Linked DNA regions of Homo sapiens: all the other regions are linked to region 1. Evidence: promoter capture Hi-C in 16 types of primary human blood cells and fetal thymus (Javierre and others, 2016). All regions are on one chromosome and are shown on one strand. The core of a region is centred on a gene start or on the middle of the fragment in contact, and the rest is flanking DNA. Distances in the headings are between cores, read along the strand shown. Region 1 holds the start of SCN2A (sodium voltage-gated channel alpha subunit 2). Region 2 has its middle 40 kb from the start of SLC38A11. Region 3 has its middle 64 kb from the start of SLC38A11.

Evidence for each region. The method cuts DNA at HindIII sites, captures the fragments that hold promoters and counts their contacts. A CHiCAGO score of 5 or more calls a contact.
Region 2: a fragment that was not itself captured here is called in contact with the fragment with the promoter of SCN2A in region 1 in 1 of 17 cell types (erythroblasts); the score reaches 5.3 in erythroblasts.
Region 3: a fragment that was not itself captured here is called in contact with the fragment with the promoter of SCN2A in region 1 in 3 of 17 cell types (fetal thymus, megakaryocytes and erythroblasts); the score reaches 7.2 in fetal thymus.

What each region holds. Positions count from the first base shown.
Region 1 is chr2:165,237,636-165,241,216 of GRCh38, forward strand. It overlaps SCN2A (sodium voltage-gated channel alpha subunit 2), which reads left to right and starts at 1,779. Exons shown (of 27, transcript NM_001040142.2): 1 at 1,779-2,005. The HindIII fragment of the contact is 782 bases long and covers 1,485-2,266 here.
Region 2 is chr2:164,993,675-164,997,255 of GRCh38, forward strand. No RefSeq gene overlaps it. Among named protein-coding and RNA genes, the nearest start is that of SLC38A11, 40 kb to the left of the region's middle. RefSeq lists an enhancer at 1,225-1,725. The HindIII fragment of the contact is 2,856 bases long and covers 542-3,397 here.
Region 3 is chr2:165,017,407-165,020,987 of GRCh38, forward strand. No RefSeq gene overlaps it. Among named protein-coding and RNA genes, the nearest start is that of SLC38A11, 64 kb to the left of the region's middle. The HindIII fragment of the contact is 550 bases long and covers 1,598-2,147 here.

The sequences.
Region 1 (3,581 bases), core at 529-3,028:
TAGTCACATCTTCCCTAAGGATAAAATTTACCCTCAAGACTATGGGGAAAAATGATTACTGTGTTAAGAAAAACATTTAAATTTTATATAAATTATTGTAAAATTCCCGTGATTTTAAAAATAAAGTATCAATAATATTTCATATTTGTGGCATCTTAGGCTTTAATCTTACAGGTTTAAGCTTCTTGGCCATCAGGAGTAATTTGTTGAAATTGCAAATTAATTTGGCAAAATTATCATAATTATGTGCCCTGAGAGCTTATGTATCTTATGATAGTGCAGGAAACTTGTGAGATGAAATAGTTGAGTGTATACATTAAAATAATTTGATCTACCAAGTCACTTTAATTATTTATTTGTTCAGTGTTAAAAATATATTTTCATAACCAAACTAATACATCTTAATAATGTTGTAGAAATGGAAGTAAGGTAAAATTTAAGAAACTGGGTTTGTTCTTCTGACTTGCTTATTAATACTGGATAAGTTACTGAAGAGTGGGCTTTGGTTTCCTCGTCTATTTAATAGTGTGGGAACAACCTTATGTTAAAGCAATCTATTCAGTATAACTTTAGCACACAGAAAATAAAATATTATGAATCCAAAGAAAGTGTAGCTTGCAATCATGTATTTTATTAAATGTATTTATCAGCATTTTGGCTTCTGATGGACATGTGTATATACATATTTTGTGGATAAAAAAATTACTTAACTATTTTTATATTAGATACTATCAATTATTCTGGCTGATCTGGGGACTTTTAATGGTAAATTTTATATCAAATCTGACAAAGACAGTATTTCAGACCCGTTTAAGACCTAGAACTCACCATGAGTTCTAAAATTGGTTCTCAGCACCATGGACAGCGTTACTGCAATAGGAAATTAAAGATCGATTTGGCCCCAAATTAAAATGGTGTTGTAAAAAAGTGGGAGAAAAAAAATGCCTATCCTTTTACTTCAAATTTTAAAAAAATGATCCTGGCCTTCACAACTGTTCATAAGAAGAATAATTAATTAAACAAACATATATTGAGAACATCATATGCTCAGTAAAACTTTGATTCTATAAATGGTGTCATTTACCAAATGGATTCTTTTGACAATTTAATTTTCTCTTATCTCTCTAAGAAGATGTAACTACACACTATAGTATACTACTACAATTATCAAATTTCATGTTGCATGTAACTTGTCGTCTGTATTTTTGTAGTTAGATTAGATTAACTAAAGATTTTTCAAGTTTGCCTTTAAGTCATTTAATTTTCCTGCCTTATCTTTAACCTTTCAACATTCCTCCAAACAATAGCAACACAAGTGTTATGTGTTAACTTCTCTAGTGACAAAAACTTATACTTCTCCACAAAGAGATGTGATGTTCATTATCAATAAGCTTGACATCTAAAATTGTTTTATAGGAGATACATATTACTTTTTCAGATGGTATATAAAGTTAAATAAATCTTAAGTTTTCAATGATGGGAAAAGCTTCCATTTAGTTTAAACATAATGTAAAGAAATTTGAATCCCCAAAATAGAATTATAATTCTAAAAATTCATACTATAATTCTTCTTAAATGTTTAAATTACAGTTAATTAAAGTAGTTGATTTCAAATAGAGTGGAATTATGGGCTGTACATCATTTAATTTTATGTGCTGACTGCTACATAGCCAAAGGAACGTGAATTAAGATGGTTCCACTTTTGACCAGGAGATGGAGCTGTCATGTAAGATGCTGCCTTTATTTATTTATTTTTCTAATTTAGCATGCTGTTTTCTAACAGACATTGGGTACCATCGAATGACTGTCAGAACAGAAAGCTAAGGCAAAGGAGGGAGGATGCTGTGGTCATCCTTTCTTGTTTTTTTCTTCTTTAATGAGGATAGAGCACATGTGAGATTTTACTTTCTACTCCAGTAAAAATTCTGAAGAATTGCATTGGAGACTGTTATATTCAACACATACGTGGATTCTGTGTTATGATTTACATTTTTCTTTATTTCAGGTAAGCCAGCATGATTCTATTTTTGACTTATCCACGGATTGTTATCTATGTTAAGAATGACATTTAATATAAGATGTGTGCTTTGTTAGCTTGTATTCAGATCTAAGAGATTCAAAAGCTCTAATTCTAGCTGTTGTGCAATTTAAAATCTTCCTAGGCTGAAATGAGCTCTGACTATGACATACCGTGTTTTATTATTTCTTTGGCTTTCTAGCTGTTGGTCTCTGTCTCTGGCTGTATTTGTTTACCTTTTAAAGGTAAAGCTTTCAAAGTGAAGGATGGGTTTTCCTTTCACAAGGGAAATACTGCTCCTTAATGCAGTGAACAAATTGTAGAGATATAATGAAGCAGATTAACATGGCAGTGGCTCTGCCAAAGCTCAGGGCTGAGCCTTCTGATTGCAGCCTCAGAGGCAAGCCAATATTCTGAGTCCAAAGGCCTTTTGAACGATTTCTGCTGGCTATGATGGTACAGATTGTTTATGTCTTTATTTTTACCTCTTAGAAATAATACGTAAGTCATTTCTCCCACATGAATCAAGATTTATGTAATGTGTTTAATAGACTTGGAATGAGACTATAGACCCTCCCTCCTCCCCCAGTATGGATGTGAGGAGTATGCTGAACACAAATTAATTGCCATGAAAATTGATTTTTTCTGTATTTTATTGGATTTGGGATAATAGAACCGTGGCCATTTTAAATAGTTGATATTATAGAAGGTGCTCACATTTTAAATTATTTTAGGTCATGTGACATTATCTGTGTTAAAGAGTGGAATGACTCAGGAGGTGGAAGTTGCATGCAACAGCCTTGCTTCTCTCTGCTGCTTCTCGTGATTTCCCTTAAATCCTTGCTTGATTATTATTAGAATAACAGGAATAAAGACATATAGAAATCCTATATTTAAAAACCACTGATTTTCATTTAGAGAAATTTAAAGAGATTTTACAAATATTTTAAAAATAGTTTTGTAAGATTGTTTTTAAATGCCTCACTTCTTTCTCCTGTGGAAAGAGCTGTGTGTGTGTGTGTGTGTGTGTGTGTGTGTGTGTGATGGTGGAGGTGGCAGGCGGTGGAGGTGCATCAGGATGTTTTTATCTCAGTCATTGTTTTCCTGTAAAGAGGTAGTTTTGCCATGTCAGAGGTTGTGAAAGCTATGGGGAATGATTTTATAAAATGGTTTGGACAAACCATGAAAAAAACATGTTTTTTAAATGTGTGGAATCTATAGAGTTTGTAGTTCTACATGGCTCCATATACATGGAGATTTTTAGAATTACAGATATTTAACCATTTATCCCCATTATCATTTAAAGAAAAGCAATTGTAATTGAGAGATAAGGTGGATTTCCCAGAGTCACGTACTAAATTACAATAAGGCAAGGCTAGAACAGTGATTGACAGTTCCACATCTTCCATAGCAGTAACACAATTCACCTCTAGTGTGAACATATCAGGATGGCATAGACCAGGTATGATGATATTCACTGTGCGTGTGTGTGTGTGTGTGTGTGTGCATGTGTGTGTGTGTTTGGTTATATTCTGTAAAATAGAGTTTCTTTCAGTATACTGTT
Region 2 (3,581 bases), core at 720-3,219, 240 kb before region 1:
GTCAGAGCCAGAGAGAGATCAAAAGGGAAAAGCGGGCAGCAGCAGGGAGGCAGGCTTGAGGAGTCCCTGTCTGATTTACGTGGGGGCCACAAATTGGTTTGATCAGGTGTGAAGTTTACACGGCGCCGGGAAGGCTGGTTGCCCCACCCTAATCTTATGCAAATGGGCTTTCCACTTGCTCAGCGCCATCTTGTCTACTCCTTACTGTACATGTGGCTGGCAAAGAGAAGGGAAGATAGAGCTCTCGTTTTGAACACGTAGTTCTGTGTCCGGAACTGGTGGGTTCTTGGTCTCACTGACTTCAAGAATGAAGCTGCGGACCCTCGCGGTGAGTGTTACAGCTCTTAAGGTGGCGCGTCTGGAGTTTGTTCCTTCTGATGTTCGGATGTGTTCTTGAGTTTCTTCCTTCTGGTAGGTTCGTGGTCTCGCTGGCTCAGGAGTGAAGCTGCAGACCTTCGCGGTGAGTGTTACAGCTCATAAAAGCAGTGTGGACCCAAAGAGTGAGCAGTAGCAAGATTTATTGCAAAAAGCGAAAGAACAAAGCTTCCACAGTGTGGAAGGGGACCCGAACGGGTTGCCACTGCCGAGTGGTCTGTTTTGACAGGGCGCTGATTGGTGCGTTTACAATCCCTGAGCTAGACACAAAGGTTCTCCACCTCCCCACCAGATTAGTTAGATACAGAGTGTGGACACAAAGGTTCTCCAAGGCCCCACCAGAGTAGCTAGATACAGAGTGTGGATTGGTGCATTCACAAACCCTGAGCTAGACACAGGGTGCTGATTGGTGTGTTTACAAACCTTGAGCTAGATACAGAGTGCCGATTGGTGTGTTTACAATCCCTGAGCTAGACAAAGTTTCTCCAAGGCCCCACCAGAGTAGCTAGATAGAGAGTGTCGATTCGTGTATTCACAAACCCTGAGCTAGACACAGGGTGCTGATTGGTGTATTTACAATCCCTGAGCTAGACATAAAGGTTCTCCACGTCCCCACCAGACTCAGGAGCCCAGCTGGCTTCACCCAGTGGATCCCGCACGGGGGCTGCAGGTGGAGCTGCCTGCCAGTCCCGCACCATGGGCCCGCACTCCTCAGCCCTTGGGTGGTCGATGGGACTGGGCGCCGTGGAGCAGGGTGTGGCGTTCGTCGGGGAGGCTCGGGCCGCACATGAGCCCATGGAGGGGGTGGGAGGCTCAGGCATGGCAAGCTGCAGGTCCCGAGCCCTGCCCCGTGGGAAGGCAGCTAAGACCCGGTGAGAAATCGAGCGCAGCGCCGGTGGGCTGGCACTGCTGGGGGACCCAGTACACCCTCCGCATCTGCTGGCCCAGGTGCTAAGCCCCTCCTTGCCTGGGGCCGGCAGGGCCCGCCGGCTGCTCCGAGTGCGGGGCCCGCCAAGCCCACGCCCACCAGGAACTCCAGCTGGCCCGCGCAAGCGCCGCGCGGAGCTCCGGTTCCCGCTGGCGCCTCTCCCTCCACACCTCCCTGCAAGCTGAGGGAGCCGGCTCGGGCCTTGGCCAGCCCAGAAAGGGGCTCCCACAGTGCAGCGGTGGGCTGAAGGGCTCCTCAAGTGCCGCCAAAGTGGGAGCCCAGGCCGAGGAGGCGCAGAGAGAGAGCGAGGGCTGTGAGGACTGCCAGCACGCTGTCACCTCTCAGTTCCAGGTAGTGTTTTCCTATTGGCACAACTTCAGGCATTTGCATGTGCAGGCTTCCACCTTGCTTGCCTATGTCTGCAACTTCATTTTACAGTCTGCTCTTTGTTAGGAAAAGAAATGATTTGAGGGCTGCTTTTAATTAAAAGGAAAACCTTACCAAGGACTCCTGTACCCTCACTATCTGCCTAATTTCTTCTTAACTCCTATATCAATAAAACCCCACGATAATTTTTTCCTATAAAAATGTGTTATTTGAAGAAATTAACGTAAGCTGGGTGTGGTGGCTCACACCTGTAATCCCAGTGCTTTGGGAGTCCAAGGTGGGAGGATCCCTCGAGGCGAGAAGTTTGAGACCAGCCTGGGCAACACAGGAAGACCCTGTCTCTATAAAAAGTTAGAAAATTAGCTGGGCATGTTAGTGTGCACCTGTAGTCCCAACTCCTTGGGAGGCTAAGGTGGGAGGATCATTTCTGGCCCCAGGAGTTTGAGGTTACAGTGAGCTGTGATTGTACCACTGCACTCCAGACTGGGTGACAAAACAAGACCCTATCTCTAAAAAAAAAAAAATTAATATAAAATGTGGAACTTTTCGCTAGTGGAGATGAATGAATATAGTCTGCAGATTTATGGAAATATGACATCTAAAAAGACCAGAATAATTCCTAAATGAAGAGGGGAAGGATATGCCCTAGAATAGGGCATAACTGAATGTCTGGGGAAGGTTTTCAAACTTTACTCCTTCTAATGCAAACCTCTGTGACCCCTTACAACCCCTTCCTCTGGATGGGTATCATTCCATATAATTACAGGCAGTACTGAGAGGGAGATTACAAATTGTAAACATTTTCAGAGGTGGGGGGAGAAAAGATGGAAACCACAAAGACACAGCTATATAAAAGGTTAATTGCATGTATATTTGGTTATGTTAATTTTTGTATATATGCTTCATATCTTTTACAGTCAGTGTGTTAGTGGCAAATAAATACGTGGAACTTACTTTCAAAATATTTTGTTGTTTCTTAAAGTGCCTAATTGTACGCGAAGCCCTTTTATAAGAGAGGTGGAATAGCATGCAGAATCTGATCATTAGATTCAATAAGTAAATACGTATTGAGTACTGATGAAGTACCAATTAAACATTATGATTCATTTTGATAAAACAAGCCAGTCGCATTAGTAAGAAACAGCTTGCTCTGGCTGGAAAACTTGTTCCCTACTTTCACAAGGTTGACTTCTTAATCCGATCAAATGAAAATGTCATGTTCAGCAGAGAGGCCATTTCTGACCATCTAATTTATAGACTGAACACCCCTTACCCCGTGATTCTACTTTATAGCACCTTGTTCTGTTCGCAATTTATAATTGTATTATCACCTGTTTACTTGATTAATGTCTGTCTCACTCATAGATTGTGAACTCCATGAAAGCAAGTATCAAATCTGTTTTAAAGCACACCCAGCATTTAGGGAAATACCTGAGGTAGAAGGCATTCAGTAAACACTTGTGGAGTGAATGTATATATTTCTTTTTCTATATGTGAAAAAACCATTTATTATACAAATCAGTTAAACTGTGATGTCAGTATTATGTCAGATTAATATTATAATGTCATATTCATTAACAACGAGGCCCATAGTAAAAATGAAAGTGTATTTGTCAAACAGTTCATTAGTAGGAAATTGAGTTTAGTATAGTATGAGATTTTCAGGTAAGATATTCTAATCTTTTTGAAGATATGACAGCATATTTAAGCTTTGGGCAGGGCTGACTTTTTTTTTTTTGTTTTTTTGTTCTTGTTTTTTTTTTTTTTTTTTTTGAGACAGAGTTTCACTCTTGTTGCCCAGGCTGGAGTGCAATGGTACGATCTCGGCTCTCCACAACCTCTGCCTCCCGAGATCAAGCAATTCTTCTGACTCAGCCTCCCGAGTACCTGG
Region 3 (3,581 bases), core at 623-3,122, 220 kb before region 1:
AATGCAGTTTGAATAAAACACTGATGAAATAACAATAGCTTTTGTATCATATTTGTGAACGGTCTTTGGCTGTATCCTAGGTGGCAATAAAAAGGTAGTGAGTCAATTTGGATATTGTGAAAAAATTATTACTATTGAATTACAGCATAGAAAGTAACATATTCCCTAGGCTTCAGGCTCCCTGTCACTTAGCACTGCCTTTGTTCTCTCTGCCCAGAATGTTATTTTCCCTACCATCATCCCAGGCCACTTTCCAGCCACGCCCATCCTTTTGCAAGACTGACTTCTGTGGGTACTGCAGGTCTCAGGGTACAGGTGCCATCTCTGGGCAGCCTTCTCCACTGCTTCTCGATTTTCTTGGCCATTCTGTGCTTCTCCTGTTTACTCCTATGGTCCTCTGTAGGCTCCTATGGGAACTATGTCTTGTTCCTAATTTTGTCTCTAGTACTTAGTACTATGTGCTTAGTAGAAGCCCGTTAAAAAACAAACAATAAATACTTAGAATCTTTATCAAGATGGTGGGAGTGGGGAATAGGAGGAGCAGAGAACTATTCAAACTGTGAAAAAGAGGTTAAAAGAGGATTTGCCACCCTGCCTATTTTAGCGTAGGGGTAGGAGTTTAACATTTGAGGCAATAGCAAAGATGATGGACATCAGTGCTTCTCAGCAAACATTTGACAATCTCAGGTAAGACCAGATAGATCTTAGGTCTATAGCTAGTCAGCTAGTCAGTCATATGACTCAATACTGGTGACAGCTAGGGGCTTAAAGGAAATAAAAACACGTTTGTGAAAATGCTTTGTGTAGGGCTAAGCACAGAGAGGAGTGAGCATCGAATGTCTGCTGAAAAACAAAAGAAGCTTAGACTTTATCGTGATCTTAGCAAAATTCTTTTCCTATAGCTTTCTGGTCGTTAAGGTGACTCCCTCAAGGGCATCAGTCTGCACTGGAAATCATTGCAGTGTGGTAGAGAGAGGGAGAGGGAGCTCTTTATAGAGAGGACTCAGCTCGCCTTCGCCTTCTTAGCATCTTGTTGCTAGGCAATAGCTCCTCTGGTGGAAGCTCATCTCCATTTTTAAAGATGGAGTGAAGTCTTGCCGAGGGAAATGCAGTTTGTACAAACTGGGCCATGTGCAAACAGTATTTTGCTCTAGTCCTGAAAACTGCTTTTCCCTATAAGGGAGACAAATCAGTCCTACTTAAATCCTGTCACTTAACAACCAGATAATATAACTCCTCTCTTTCTCTCTCTTTTCTGTAAAGCATAGACTTCCTTTTTAATCTTATTGATTTATTTTTACCTTTCCAACTATATGTCTTTCCAAATTGATTTAATGAGATTCAGCAGGGCATTGCTTGTAATAGTATTTCCCTAGACTGCTGAATTAATTTCCATTTAAAAAATTACTTTGGATCTGCAGCTCTGTCCGGCACCTAGCGTATTGCTCTTACTGCATTTTACATAATGATAAAATATAATGAGTGGTCAGTAAGAAGGGCCAATATTTAATGAATATAGTTTTTTTTAAACAAAGTGTAGATAGGTCATACTGTTTGTATATATCTGAAAAACCTATACATAATTTGCTAGACTCTAAGCTTTCAAAAACCAATATAGAATAATTATCTTTCTCAGAACTGCAAAATGTCCTTTAGACACTAAGAGCTTTGTGTATTTAATCTTTTAACCTTTTAAATTGTTGGTCAATTTAGACAGCAAAATTGGCAATTCACTTTTATTTTCTCATCTTGTAATAATGTCACAGATTTTTGGAAGCTAGTGACTAAATTCATATAGCCATGTTGTATCAGTCTCTTTTTAATTCTGAAAGTCTTGAATGTATAAATAACTTGAGAAATGTACAGATACCTTACTATGGAGTTTAAAAATTCTGTTCTAATTATTATTGTATGATTTACATAGTAGATCCCTGAATTTATAACAATGTGTTTTTTTTTTTTTTCAAATTTAATTCTGGAGAAGGTCTGACACATGATTGCCACTTCTATTAGTCCATGTTGTGTTGCTGTAAAGGAATATCTGAGGCTGAGTAACTTATAAATCAAAGAGCTTTATTTTGGCTCATGGTTCTTCAGACTGTACAAGAAGCATGGCACCAGCATCTGCTTCTGATAAGGTCTCAGGAAGCTTCCAGTCATGGTGGAAGGCGAAGTGGAGCAGGCATGTCACATGGCAAGAGAGGGAGCAAGAGAGAGAGAAGAGGAGTGCCACACTTTTAAATGGCCAGCTCTTGTGTGAAGTAATAGAGGAGAACTCACTCATTAATGTGGGCAGGGCACCACACCATTTATGAGGGTTCCACCCCCAGGATCGAAACACCTCCCACTAGGCCTCACCTCCAACATTGGAGATTACATTTCAACATGAGATTTAGAGGGGACAAATATCCAAAATAGGCCAGGTGCAGTGGCTCACGCCTATAGTCCCAGCAGTTTGGGAGACTGAGGTGAAAATATCACTTGAGCCCAGGAGGATCACGTAGTGAGCCAAGATCATGCCACTGCACTCCAGCCTGGGCGACAGAGCGAGACTCTGTCGCCAAAAAAAAAAAAAAAAAAAAAAAAAAAAATTAACCAGGTGTGGTGGCGGGTGCCTGTAGTCCCAGTTACATGGGAGGCCCAGGCAGGAGAATGGCGTGAACCTGGGAGGCGGAGCTTGTAGTGAACTGAGATCTCGCCACTGCACTCCAGCCTGGGCAACAGAGGGAGACTCCATCTCAAAAAAAAAAAAAAAAAAAAAGAAGTCCACAAACTTTGGATCTTGAGTGGGTTTAATGAGGTTGAAAGAATTTCCTGACACACTTAAGTTTTAACCTTCCTTCCTTCCCTTCCTGCCCTCCCTCCCTCCCTCCCTCCCTCCTTTCTTTCTTTCTCTCTCTCTCTCTTTCTTTCTCTCTCTCTCGTTCTTTCTTCTGTCATTCAACTTACATTTGTGGATTTCCATCTCTATTAGTTAGCCCATTTTGATAGTGATAGAATTCTAACTTGAACCAGCTTAAGCAAAAAAGGAATTGTTCATGGTAGAGCTGAACACCCCAAACCAGGGTCTGGAAAGCCAGCAGCACACTTTGTCTTACACTCTCATTTGTACTTCTCTCATTATGCTTCATCCTCTTAAACTATCTTTATCTCTGTGTCCGTACCCAGAACTTCTAGCAGCTTCCTGGATCATATCTTCCTAGTTAAAAAGAAAGGAAGGACTTCTAATTTACCAATATTTATATTACAGAAAAGGACCCAGAAGGTAATCTTGAGTCACATACCTACTGAAATACTAAATCCTGTGGCCATGAAAGCAGAGAAAGGAAAGAAATGGCAGTTTCACATGTTCAAAAGGGAAGAGCAGTGGAACAAGAATGGCAGTGGTATTGACTGCAAGGAGTACTAAGCAGATAAAACTAAAAATAACTGCTACCTCATCATTTGCAAAGTACTTTAAGAAAAATGACAAGTTAGATGTAGTCCCTGTCCATAAAGGAACACACTTTCTGAAAAGGACAACAGATTTATAAATGAGTACCTTTAATACAATGTTACTCATGCAATAATAAAAGTTGCAC